Linked DNA regions of Homo sapiens: all the other regions are linked to region 3. The links are contacts of gene promoters, found by promoter capture Hi-C in blood cells and fetal thymus (Javierre and others, 2016). All regions are on one chromosome and are shown on one strand. Each heading gives the region's core, a stretch centred on a gene start or on the middle of the fragment in contact. The rest is flanking DNA. Distances are from core to core; before and after follow the strand shown. Region 1 has its middle 4.4 kb from the start of MYT1. Region 2 overlaps MYT1 (myelin transcription factor 1). Region 3 holds the start of KCNQ2 (potassium voltage-gated channel subfamily Q member 2).

The links. The method cuts DNA at HindIII sites, captures the fragments that hold promoters and counts their contacts. A CHiCAGO score of 5 or more calls a contact.
Region 1: a contact is called between a fragment that was not itself captured here and the fragment with the promoter of KCNQ2 in region 3, in 1 of 17 cell types (M0 macrophages). The highest score is 5.1, in M0 macrophages.
Region 2: a fragment that was not itself captured here is called in contact with the fragment with the promoter of KCNQ2 in region 3 in 1 of 17 cell types (endothelial precursors); the score reaches 5.3 in endothelial precursors.

Annotation. Positions count from the first base shown.
Region 1 is chr20:64,158,028-64,162,007 of GRCh38, forward strand. No RefSeq gene overlaps it. Among named protein-coding and RNA genes, the nearest start is that of MYT1, 4.4 kb to the right of the region's middle. RefSeq lists enhancers at 672-1,392, 3,303-3,980. The HindIII fragment of the contact is 3,865 bases long and covers 1-3,360 here.
Region 2 is chr20:64,212,341-64,216,295 of GRCh38, forward strand. MYT1 (myelin transcription factor 1) reads left to right here. Exons shown (of 23, transcript NM_004535.3): 10 at 1,194-1,307. Among named protein-coding and RNA genes, the nearest start is that of PCMTD2, 41 kb to the right of the region's middle. The HindIII fragment of the contact is 2,743 bases long and covers 406-3,148 here.
Region 3 is chr20:63,470,986-63,475,265 of GRCh38, forward strand. It overlaps KCNQ2 (potassium voltage-gated channel subfamily Q member 2), which reads right to left and starts at 1,670. Exons shown (of 17, transcript NM_172107.4): 1 at 1,183-1,670. The coding sequence starts at 1,478. The HindIII fragment of the contact is 3,283 bases long and covers 1-3,205 here.

The DNA.
Region 1 (3,980 bases), core at 178-2,677, 690 kb after region 3:
ATCCTGTCCCCACCTGCCCCACCTGCCCCACCCATCCCTGTGCCCAACCTGCCCCACCTGCCCCTGTCCCCACCTGTTCCTGTCCCTACCTGCCCCACTTGTCCCTGTCCTCACCTGCCCCACCTACCCCTGCCCCCACCTGCCCCTGTCCCTGCCTATCCTTGTCCTGCCCACCTGTTCATGTCCTCACCTGTTCCTGTCCCCCACCTGCCCCTGTCCTCACCTGCCCCACCTGCTCCATCCCACCTGTCCCTGTCCCCACCTGTCTTTGTCTCCACCTGCCCCATCCCCACCTGCCCCACCTGCCCCTGTCCTCACCTGTCCCACCTGCCCCTGTCCCCACCTGCCCAACCTGTCTGTGTCCCCCACCTGCCCCTCTGGTCCCTGCCACCACCTGCCCCACCTACCCCTTTCCCCTACCTGCCCCACATGCCCCACCTGTGTCCCCCACCTGCTCCACCTGCCCCACTTGTCTGTGTCCCCCACCTGCCCCACTTGTCTGTGTCCCCCACCTGCTCCACTGGCCCCTGCCACCACCTGCCCCACCTACCCCTTTCCCCGACCTGCCCCACCTGTCCCTGTCCCCACCTGCCCCACCTGCCCCTGTCCTCACCTGCCCAACCTGTCTGTGTCCCCCACCTGCCCCACTGGTCCCTGCCACCACCTGCCCCACCTGACCCCGCCCCTCTTCTACCTTCCTGACCCCATCCCCTCCCCTCCCCCTACTTGCTCCACCTGTCTCACCACTGCCATATGCCCCTCCTGGCCCCACCTGTCCTACCTGTCTCCCCTGCCTCCAACCTGCCCCTCTTTTGCCCCCCACATGTCCCCCCTCCCCCCTCCTACCTCCACCTGCCCCACCTGTCTCCCCACCCCTACCTGCCCCTCTTGGCCTCCCACTTGTCCCCCCTGCACCCACCTGCTTCCTCCTGCTTCTCCTGCACGCTCACCAGCCTCTGAGCACCTTCACCCCTCGATGTTCTCTCCTCTAAACAAGATGACTCACCATTTATTTCCAGCCTAATCTCTGCCCCCAGCCTCAGCCTCCATACTGTCACCCTTGTTGACGGTGTCACCTGGTGACTAACAGGCGCTCAGACATCCCAGCAGAGCCAGCAACTCCCACAAATCTGCCCTCCTTCAGCGTCTCCCTCTCAGGGGGTGCTGCCGCCCACCTCATGGCTCTGGCCAGCCCTGGAGTCTCCTGTGGCCTCTCTGTCCCTACCACATCCAGACCCTCAGCAACCCGATTCATTCCTGAGGGGGTGTCCCAACTCGAATGCAATTCGTCACTTCTCTTGGGACACCCTTTACCGTCTATTGCCGCCCAGTAGCACTCACCATAGACCTCACTGAAGATGTAAATGTTAAACATTTTGCTCTTGGTCACCCAGCTGGGAGGGGCCGGTCAGGGGTCAGTCCAGATCTGCCTCCTCCAAAGGTTTGAACCCTCCATACTCCGGGCCTCCCCCTCAGTGCTGCCCTGGATGGGAGAGACTAGCCTGGACTTGGCCACGTGTTGGTAGAGGTAAGCCAGCATCACCTGGGCCTCCACCTGTCCCCTGCAGGGACAGACACCTGCAGAACCTGAGGACCAGGAGGTGACCCTGAGCTGCCTGGGGTGATGGGAGCTTCCCTCGGCATCAGGGGAAGCTGGCCCAGAGGACAGCCGGGCTCCATGGTGAGGCCAAGTTCATCGTTTCAAAGGGCCCCTGTGGGCAGTGAAAGGTCGTGGGCCCAGTTCGAGGGACTAGGAATCATTCTGGAAGAGGCCTCTGCAGTGCCCACCTTCACTCCCATCCACACACCCTGCCCCTCCCTGGCCCTGGCGCGGCTGTAGCTGCTGGAAGGTCCAGGTCCTTCTGGGCAGCCCTCTCTCCCTGCCCTTTCCTTCCTGCACACCCCACCCTCTGCCTGCAGGGCCTGAGGTTGTCGAGGGATTCTTGACTTCTACAGTTTGCCTCCCCCTGGCACCTCCCACCATACCTTGTGCCTGGGATCTGGTGGTGGGGAGTCAACCACACCAGCTGAGGGCCCTCAGGGGCCTTGTCTCAACAGGCAGTGATTGGGTTGTAGGGAGCGAGACCTGACCCCACTCATGCATCCTGGCTGGTTCCCCACCAGGTTTCAGGCTGGACCTAGTGTGGCAGTTCCGAGAGAGGAAGCGGGGGAAGGGATGCATCTTCAGGAAGGGCCCCCTCCCCTCACTCACTGTGAGTCCATTACTGTGTGGGAAGGGCTGTGTCTCTGCCTCCCCTCACTCCCCTTCCCTGGCCCTGCGGGGTGGGGGAGAGATTGTCTGGGGCCTGAGCCCATTGTGTGGAGAAGAGAGCCTCATTGGCAGGCAGCCGGGGCATCAATTTGTGATTATCTGCTCCCTGGTCTTGATTGGCTGGATGCAGTGGGGTCTCCCCAGGGCCCTGGGACACAAGTTTGTGCAGCAACTTTTTCCAGCATGAAGTGACGTGTGTTCCCAGAGAGAAGGTGCACCCCCTGGCCAGGATGACGCTCTGCGGGACCTTCCTGGGTGCGTACCACCCCCAGCCCCTCGCGTCCCTCCCTGGTCTGTTCACAAGTTTCTGCGAAGATGCCAAAGGGACTAATTAGCTGTGTGTGTCCCCCCCTCAGAGCTCAGTGCTCTTTTCTGGGCAGCCAAGGAGGTGACAGACATGCTCCCTCCTGAACAATGGCCAGGGCCCCTGGGGAAACAGCCACCTCCCCTTCTAGCGGATCCCGTGGCTTGCAGAAGTGCTGACGGCACAGAGCCCTGTGAACGCTGCCCTGCAGAAGGTTGGAGGTGGGAGGGCGGTGGGCAGGGTGTGTGCAGAGGCCAGCTGGGCCTTCTTTCTGTTGATTTACCTGCCTGGATCTGCCTGGCAGGCCATATAGCTGGTGGGTGTCAGGAGCCCTTGGCCTGGAGCAAGGCTCTGTGAGACTCTGTGAGAAGGTGGCAGAGAGAATGTGTGTGCGCGCGCGCGTGCGCGCGACAGATGTCCCCTGGGACTTAACTGTAGCTAAGGGGCTTTGGCCAGGGCCGCTGCTGCTTGCGTCCTCATCACACTCAAAGTTGCTGTGTGTGTGAGTGCACGTGTGTGAGTGTGCATATGTATGTGAGGGTCTCACAAACTGGATGCCAAATGTTTGTGAGCGTCTGCGTGAGTGTGAGACAGAAACACAAAGTCAGCCCCGAGTGTGGCGGAGAGTGGATCCCGGTTTTGTTTGCTCCATCTGCCAGGGCCGGCCTGGGGCAGCACCCCCGCCCTCAGCTGTTCTATACAATATTAATGCTCACCATCTCGGCCTCACACAACGGCCCTAATTGTCGTCTGCAGCATTAAGGCAGGCGCCCATCTGCGGGGAAGCTTTCAGAAGGAAACAAGAAAACCCTCACCCCCAGCTGGTCACCGGAGAAGGTGGTGCCAATTACAGATGCAGAAAGTTTAGACCAAAATTACTTGAAAGAGTTTTTATGAAGCAAATGAACTGACACTTGGAATGTCTGTGTGCAGATTTGCACAAGTAATTACACTTTATTTGAAATGATCTTACCAGCTAAGCGATCATTAAGCCTGCTCCCCCACTCACACAAAGCGCTTTCTCAGCGAGTGCGGCTGCGGCGTAAGTTTGGTTTTGCAAATCTCCCGTTTCCCTCCCCGTGTGGAGTCTGAGGACCCGCCAGTCAGACAGGAGTTATTTCCTGGTGGATCTTTCCAAACATATTATTAAAAAGTCACATGTGACTTTCCCACAGACTTTTATGAAATAAAACCCAAAGGAACAGCGTGCAACATGCTCAGTTATGGAAGAGAAAATATTTTATGATTTCAAAAAGTCCTGACAAATTTTCACCCTCTCTAAGAAAGGAAGCTTAAGACTATACCTTGCTGTTGTCACTTACAAGCAGGGATCTGTTGGGGTTTGGAATTCTCTGTCTCAGCCCGGAGCCCAGAGTTCAGCGATAGCTGAATACTGGTGCGAGC
Region 2 (3,955 bases), core at 527-3,026, 740 kb after region 3:
GGCTCTGGCCTGCCTGGGGCTCCCTGTGTGCTACCCTTCTCCCAGCCTGCCGCCCTGAGGAGTGGGTACAAGGTCAGGGCACACCTGGGCGGTGAGGGGCCTTTGTGAGGGCAGAGTGGCAACTGGAGGTGCAGTCACCCAGTGGTGTTGCTGCCTTAACCCTACGAGCTCCCGAGAGAGCAGGGGGCGGCCTGCAGAGGAGGGAGCAATGCACCCTCTGTGAAGAGAGGTACAACAACCATGTGAGAGCCAGGTGAATACTTTGTGTCCTACCCACATTCAGAAAACCTCTGCACACTGGCTCTTGCTCCTGAGTGGGAAGGGCAGACATGAACAGTAACCTCGGCAGGCCAGGACTGTGCTCTGGGCTGCTTTGTGGGAGTTCTGAGGCCCAGGTGGAAGTGAAGCTTCCCGACCACCCTCGAGGTGTAGTTGTTGACTGGTCTTCTATGGTGAGGGGGGACTACTCCTCCAGCCTTACCCTAAGTGCCATGGGTGGCCGTGGCCTCGGTGGGATATGCTTTCCCCCAGCAGGCTTATGCTCAGCTGAAAGGACTGCCAGAGCTTTTGAGGTCACTTCATTTGAAAAGAGGCCAGTTCCCCATTACGTCACCTCCCTGGGCTGGCTGAGGGACTGGCGCTGGAGCTCACAGTTAACTTTATTCTGACAGATGAAGCTGCTGCCTCCGTGTCTTAGACTGAGTACTTTCCTGGGCCTGTGTCATCCAGGGTCAGTGCCCAGGCTGTGGTCCAAGTGGGGCCCTGGGCTGCCCCAGAGCAGCTAACAGAACAAGCGCCAGAGAGGGCTGCAGAATCCAGCCCTGCAAGCTGGGAAGGGAGAGGAAGGGGGTGAGGGCAAGCCTGTCTCCCAGACCCATGCAGAGGAGGCATCTTTGCCCAGAGCTTTCAAGGCCTTTAGGATATATTTCATCTTTGTGTGTCCTTGGCATAGAATGTTCCAAAACAGAAACTGACTGGGCAGCTTGTACTGTGAGGGCTCAAGAACAGAGCCAGAGAGAAAACCCCTGTCCTGCAGAATGACAGGGTTATTCCCGGCTCTGGGCTTCTCTGGAGTTCACCTGGAGTTCTCACATCTGAATGACCTTGCCGTGAGACACCCACACACACAGACACCCAGGACAGGACAGGCATGGAGGGGAAGGCTCAGAAACCCCTCCTCTTCCTTCCTCTAGTTTGTCTGGGTGTCCCATTGCTGCCGCCGAAAAATTAGCCAAATCCCATGAGAAGCAGCAGCCGCAGACAGGAGATCCTTCCAAGAGTAGCTCCAATTCCGATCGGATCCTCAGGTGAGTGAGATGAGCCACAGAACTGAAGAGGCTGCCTCCCAAATGCCTGCAGAGGGCTTCTCAGTCTCCCGCAGGCTGTATGTGCATGTGTGTGAGTGCATGTGTGTGAGTGTACGTGCATGTGAGTGTACGTGCATGTGAGTGTGCACATGCCCCGGGCCCCCCAGGAGCAGAACTGCGGGGCAGTTTTGGAGCCACACAGGACAGAGTCTCATGTCTACCACATTCGCCAGTGCCTCAGCCAAAGCGCAAACTCCTGCACAGTTGCCTCTGCCTCCGACATGGGGCTCTGCCTCCTTGGAGTCGTCTGATGTGACCACTTGAGGCCCCTTGGGGATTCATTTGTGGAGATGCTGGTCCTGTCTGGAAAGAGCAGACTGCACCAGCCAAGGACCACGGACGTCCAGGAAGCACCATGAGCCACTAATCCTTGGCCGTCCTGCCTGTCCCTCCCCGACCCCAGGGATAGACCCCAAGTCAAGGAAGAGGGTGGGTGCAGGCTTTGCTCCCCAGAGTGCTTTGTGGCCCCTGAGGTTCTGAGATCACAGTAGGTGTGTGTGAACATGTGGGAGCGTGTGTGTGCATGTTCACACGCCTGTTTGTGTTTGCATATGTGCGGGTATGTTTACATGTGCGTGCAAGTCCATGTGTATGTGAACACGTGGGAGCGTGTGTGTGCATGTTCACACGCCTGTTTGTGTTCGCATATGTGCGAGTATGTTTACATGTGCGTGCAAGTCCATGTGTGTGTGCATGTGTAAATTTGGCTCTAATCAATAAGGATCTTTCAGAATGTGTCCCATTAGTGTCCCCTCCTTCCATGTGGCTCTAAGAAGTAAGTGCCACAAATAAGGCCAGAGGCTCAGAGAGTTGCCCAAGGCCACCCTGCCCATCCTGCCTGGCTTCAAAGTCTCTCCTCTATGGAGCTGAGTCCTTGGACCACGGTACCCACTGTCGAAGAGGACACTTCCACTGCTCCTGTCTTCACCTGCAGACACCCTGCTCCCCACTCCCGTGAGGAACTAGAACTCACACACAGCTCCTCCTCCCCAGCTCTCAGACCCCTGTTCCATATCTGTCTCACCAGACAAGAGTGTAGGAGACCCCGGCTGGGGTGAGCGTGAATGACTGCATAGCCCCTTCCACTGTCCGCCTCCTTTCGGGGCCCACCTGACCCCGGCCCTTCCTGGCACATAATTGGCAAAGTTCCAGCCAGATGATCTTCGCTGCTCACCTTGGCTGTGTCATGCCCAGGCCCTTCCCTGGTCTGCTCCAGAGTGTTCCTCTGAAGGTGCAATTCCCACACGTGGGATCTCTGGGCAGAGCACAGAGACTTGCCTTCCTGCTCTGTGGGCATGCTTGCCATCCCACACACAGGCACCTTCAGCCCTGCAGGTCCCAGCAGGCTGCTTTCCACCAGCTGGCTCTCACAATGGTTTGAAGCTGCTTTTTTCCTCTATCTTATTTGCTGTTCCCTCCAGCTTCCTGTCAGTTGCTAATTCAATCCTTTCCCTCTTTGATCTAAATCACCGATAAAATGTCAAACCGCAGATTTGGCCCCCGTGTGAGGCCAGGCAGGGGTGTCAAACAGGCTCCAACTTTGGAGACTGCACTCCCTGGGACTATGACCTCAGTTTGTTCACTTATAAAAGTAGGACAACAAACTAAGTCGCTCATGAGGCTCAAGTGACACTCTGCCGCCCTCAGCCCATGGTGAATACTCACTGAACGCTAGAGAGATTGTGGCTAGGGTGGAGGAGGCCTCCCGTTAGGCCCTTTTGATTCTATCCAGCCCACATTTCTGGCTATCGAACTTTGGGGTGTGAGGACGGGCTTTGCAAAGCTTCGTTGGCATTGTGGACAATAAGTGTACAGATTCTGACTGAAGCCTTGGTCAAGGAAGCCATCAACGGTGGTACCAATGTTAAGCTTATTATTATTATTATTATTTTTAGTGACAGAGTGTCACTCTGTTGCTCAGGCTGGAGTGCAGTGGTTTCAATCATAACTCACTATAACCTCAAACTCCTGGTCTCAAGTGATCCTCCCACCTCAGCCTCCCGAGTACCTAGGAATACAGATGTGCCATCATACCTGCCTATTTTTTTTGCGTTTTTTTTTTTTTCTTTTTTTTGTAGAGAGGGTCTCACTAGGTTGCCCAAGCCGGTTTCTTACTCCTGGCTTCAACAGACCTGCCTTGGCCTCCAAAAGTGCTTGGATTATAGACATAAGCCACCATACCTGACCCAATGTTAAGTTTAAAGTTAGTTTTTTCCCTCCTGGCCTCACTCTTGCAACTTTTCTATCTGCCACTGGGGTCAGGATCCATCCTGGGGCTCCCACCCTTCCTGGAGAAGGAGAAAACACCCACGTCCTGGTAGTGTTCAGTTCTTCCAGGCCCATCAGAGCTGGCCGTGGTTGCAGGGCTGGCCTGGTGGTCCTCTGTGCTGGGCTCTGTTCTTAGTCCACACTTAAGTTCTCGTAGCACCCAGCACCTTGGAGGCTGTCATTGTCAGCTCCTTCTTAATTCCACTGATTGTACACTTTCCAGACTGAAGTCATTGCTTGGTCCAGACAGGAACAAAGAAAGCCATGGCTGCTTGCCAGGATCTCCTCTTCTCTGAGCTGCCAGGTTCAGAAGCTCCTCT
Region 3 (4,280 bases), core at 420-2,919:
TTCCCTCTGGGATCTTCTCCCTACCCCAGAACCCTCTCATATCACAGTCCACGGAGGGTCTGCTAAGGGCACACTCAAGGCCACACGCAGGCTGGGGCACACTCGTGGGGCACACACCCCTCTCGGCCCAGGTGGGCGCCCGACCAGCTTGTGACCAGTCTGCCCCTCACTCCCATCCCAAAATGCCTCTCACACAAAATGGCCGGTCCCGGAGCTCAGCGGGTCCCTTGTTCAGCTGGGATGGGAGAGCAAGCGCCCTGGCGCGGGGAGGCTGTGCACACCGGCCGCACAGGCCGCACACGCAGCGGGCCGTGCAATTCCACATGCGAACACCCAGGTGCACACGGACGCAGGCTTCGGCCGCCCCCCGCCAGCCCTGCCCCAGGAGGCAGCCGTTCCCTGAGCCTCGCCCGGGAAGAGGGGACAGCCCCTTCCAGGCCCAGGGCTGGGGGTCCCAGGTCTGCCGCAGCCCCTCCCCCGGGCCTCGCTCTGCCAAGGAGGGGTCCTGAGCCCGGGATGTGCACGGGGGCGGCCGGCGGCTGCAGAGATGGGACAGCGCAGGAGCTGAGCGCAGGAGCTGAGGGGGTTCGCGGGGCCAGGGAGGGGCGTCGGCGCCGAGGGGGCAGGACAGACAGCTGCGCTCAGCCCGGGCTGGGGTGGGGGGGTCATGGGAGGGCCCCTCCCCCATCTCAGGAACCCAGAAGCTCACCCTAGTCTGAGGGAGAGCGGCTCGGGAGGATGGCGGAGGACAGGCCAGACCCCTCCCCCCCGCCCTCGCTTGGTCGGGCGGCCCCAGCCCCGCGGGTCCCCGAGAGTCCCGGAGAGTCCAGACCCAGCGCTGCCGCCGTCCCTCCCCGGCCGGCCCTTTGTTCGGCGCAGAGGCCGCGGGGAGGGGCCTCCCAGGCTGAGGAGGGGGCTGGGGCGGCCGCACGTCTCTGTCCTGCGGGCCTGGAGCCCCCACCCCGACCTGAGCGGCCCCGACCCCGGAATCCTTCCTGCCCGCGCGCTGTACAATCGCTCTCCGGTCTCGGCCCAGCACTCCCGCCGGGGAGCGCCGGCCCCGGACCCAGACCCAGGGGCAGGGAGCCAAACCCGCCGCAGCCAGCCTGGCCGGGGTCGCCGATGGGGTCGCCGATGGGGGTCGCCATGGGGGTCGCCACGGGGGCCCCGCCGGCCACTCACACGTAGGCGTGGTAGATGAACGCCCAGCCGCGCGGCCGCTCCAGCACGTTGTAGAGGAAATTCTGCAGCTTGCGGTAGAAGGCGTTGCGCTTGGGGGGCTTCCCGGCGCCCGCGCCGCCCGCGCGAGGTTTGCTGAGGATGCTGCCGCGCTTGGGGGCCTCGGAGCCGGCGATCAGCAGCGCCCCGTCCCGGGTGGAGTCGGGCGCGCCGGGGTCCAGCCCCACGAAGCCCACCTTCAGCTTCTTCTCCCCGCTCGGGCCGGGGTATACGCCGCCGTTGCGCGACTTCTGCACCATGGTGCCTGGCGGGAGGCGCCCCGGGTCGGGCTCAGGCTCAGCGGGGGCGGAGCGCGGGGGGCGGCGCGGGCCCCAGCCCAGGCCCCCCGGCCGGGAGCCGCATGGCCGAGGCGGCGGTTCCGCACTCCTGCCGGGCTTGGGCCGCGCGCGGAGACGCTGCGGCCACCTCGCTCCGCGCGCACCTCGGCGCCTGGCCCGCGGCCGCGCCGGCTCCGCCCGCCGCCTCGCCCCGCCCCGCGTTAACCCCCGCGACGCCAGTCGAAGGAGAGGGGAGGAGAAGAGAGGGAGGGGAAGGGAGGGGAGAGGGAGGGACGGGGAGGGGAGGGGAGGGGGGAAGGAGAGGAGAGGGGAGGAGAGAAGAGGGAAAGGGAGGGGAGGGGAGGGAGAGGGGACGGGGAGAGGGGAGACAGGAGGGGAGGGGGAGGGGAGGAGAGGGGAATGGGAGGGGAGGAGAGTGGCGGGGACGGGGAGAGGGGAGACAGGAGTGGAGGGGGGAGACAGGAGTGGAGGGGGAGGGGAGGGGGGAGAGGAGGGGGAGTGGGGGAGGGGGAGGGGAGGGCAGGGGGAGAGGAGGGGGAGGCAGAAGGGACCAAGGCCCGCGGGACCAGAGCTCTGGGCTGAGCCTGCCCAATCCCCCGGCCATGTGCACACTGACCCTGCGGTCACCTTTGAGTCCGGTAGTACTAACCAAGTGGACCTGCCTGGTGGCCCCAGCGCTCCTGGGGTCCCAGAGCGGTGCCCAGCCGCCTGAGCAGGACTGGAGTCTTCTCAGCTGGGCCCTGGGAGTGGACGCCTCCGGGAAGGGATGGGGGTAGGGGCTCTCCCCAAGACTCTGTTAGGGCTCAGCCCATGGTGACCTCATGCTCTCGGTGTCAGGGTTGCCCAGGCAGTAGGACCCCCTAGACCCCAGGGTGTGTGCAGGGAGGGTCTGTGGAGGCTGGAGGCACCCTGCAAGGAAAGCAGCCCAGGGGAAAGGGGGTGGCCACAGAGGCCGGGAGGCAAGAAGAGGAGCAAGGGCCATGGGGTGGGGGATGGGAGAGAGTCACTCCTAGAGGGCCTTGAAGCCCCCCAAGGGGCCTGGACTTAGTTATGCAGACCCCAGAAGGGGCCTGTGGCAGGGGCAGGGACTGGAGGGTGGCCCCAGGGCAGCAGACAGGCCAGCAGGAAGCCCAGTGCCACACCTCGGGACAAAGGAGGCAGATCTGTGCCTCCTGGACACAGATGGGACGGTGTTTCCTTGGGGGCAAGTGCGCGGAGGTGGCCTCCCCCCTGCCGGCAGCCATGTGTCCTGGGAGGGGTCCCTCTGGAGCTGCTGCTGGGAGACCAAGGGACCCCTGCGGCTCAGTGCTGCCCGCCCTGTGAGGTGCCCCGCCACTGGGCCTTCCTCTGCACATCCAGGAGGGGTGTCATCTTCGAGTGCGTCTCTGACTACATCCAGCCTGTTTGCACGTTCGCCTGGCACCATGGGTTCTACCCAGAGAAAGGCCCTCTGCTGAATCGCTGGCGCCGTCCTCGCAGGTGACCTGCTCATAAAACAGCCCTAACCCTGGTGCAGAGTGAGCTCTTGAGTTGTGTTTGCCCTTTGGTTTCCAGAGCTAGTGGCCACGGGGCCTGTTTTTGTTGTTGTTGTTTTGTTTTTAACTAGGCTGAATACAGAAGGGTCGGTGCAGGCAGAATGCTAACCTGTACGTTATCCAGGACGTTGGGGATAGACGGCAACTTACACAAGCTTGTGCACATCCAGGGGTACTTTCTGGATCCCCGCCTCCCTGCCTCTGTGCCCACGCATTGGCTGTGATTACCAGCATGAAGTGGGCTTGCCCCAAGCGGCTGCGGTTTCTCTCGATTGTTAAGGGAGGAGGCACCAGCCTGGTGCTTTCAGGGGAGGGAGAGGACTTCAGTATGCAGAAGGAAGAGAGCACCGTGGCATCTCCCTGCACACGCTGGCTGGTGCCGCTGGTCTTTCCCACTCACCAGAAGACCCGAGGGAGCAGCCGTAGCTCAAAATGTAAACCCTGCAGGGCTGGGGCCCCTCATCCTGTGGGGGGAAGCCCCAGACTATCCGGTGCCCCTCGGCAGTGCCCGGGCTACACGTGACCTCTCCTGGGCAAGCAGTCATCTCAGGTTTGATGTCAGAGCCCAGTGGGACCCAAGGTCAGGGCTGATCCACAGAGGATGAAGGAAAAGTGACCCCAGTTCCCGTTTGAGCAGATGCACCAGAGCTGAGATGGGAGCAAGGATTAAGGTGCTCTGGTGTCCAGGACATTGGGAGAGACAAACCTGTTCATCTTATTTTTCAGAAAAAAAAGGGGAAAACCCTGCTGAGGTCTTGGGGAGCCATCGGCTGGCTTCACAGCCTCCTGGGGGTGGCCGAGAGTGGCATCCCCCGTGGGGATGCCGGGCTGGAGGGGCCGGCTCAGGATGCAGGTGGAGCTTTGCACCCTGCAGCTCGCGGTTCTCCCGTCTACAAATGGCGTTGGCTCCAGCAGCTTTGCCACACCTTGGAAGGTTCTGGAAAGTGAATCCTGCATCAAGGCTTGAAAATCCTTGCTTCCTCCTTTGTTTAGGATGTCCTTTCAAAGAGCTAGCTCATTAATCATTTATGTTTTTAATTTTGTGTCTTGCACACCCACGGGCTACATTGTCAGCAATCTGGTTACCCGCATGCCTGCCCCCTGTCCCCTCCTCTGCGCCCAGGCAAAGTGGGTCGTGAAAATGCCCAGTTGGGGTAAATTTCATCCAAGCAGGAGGAATTCCATTTATGTAAAAATAGATGGGAAAAGCGTTCAGGCTCAAACAATC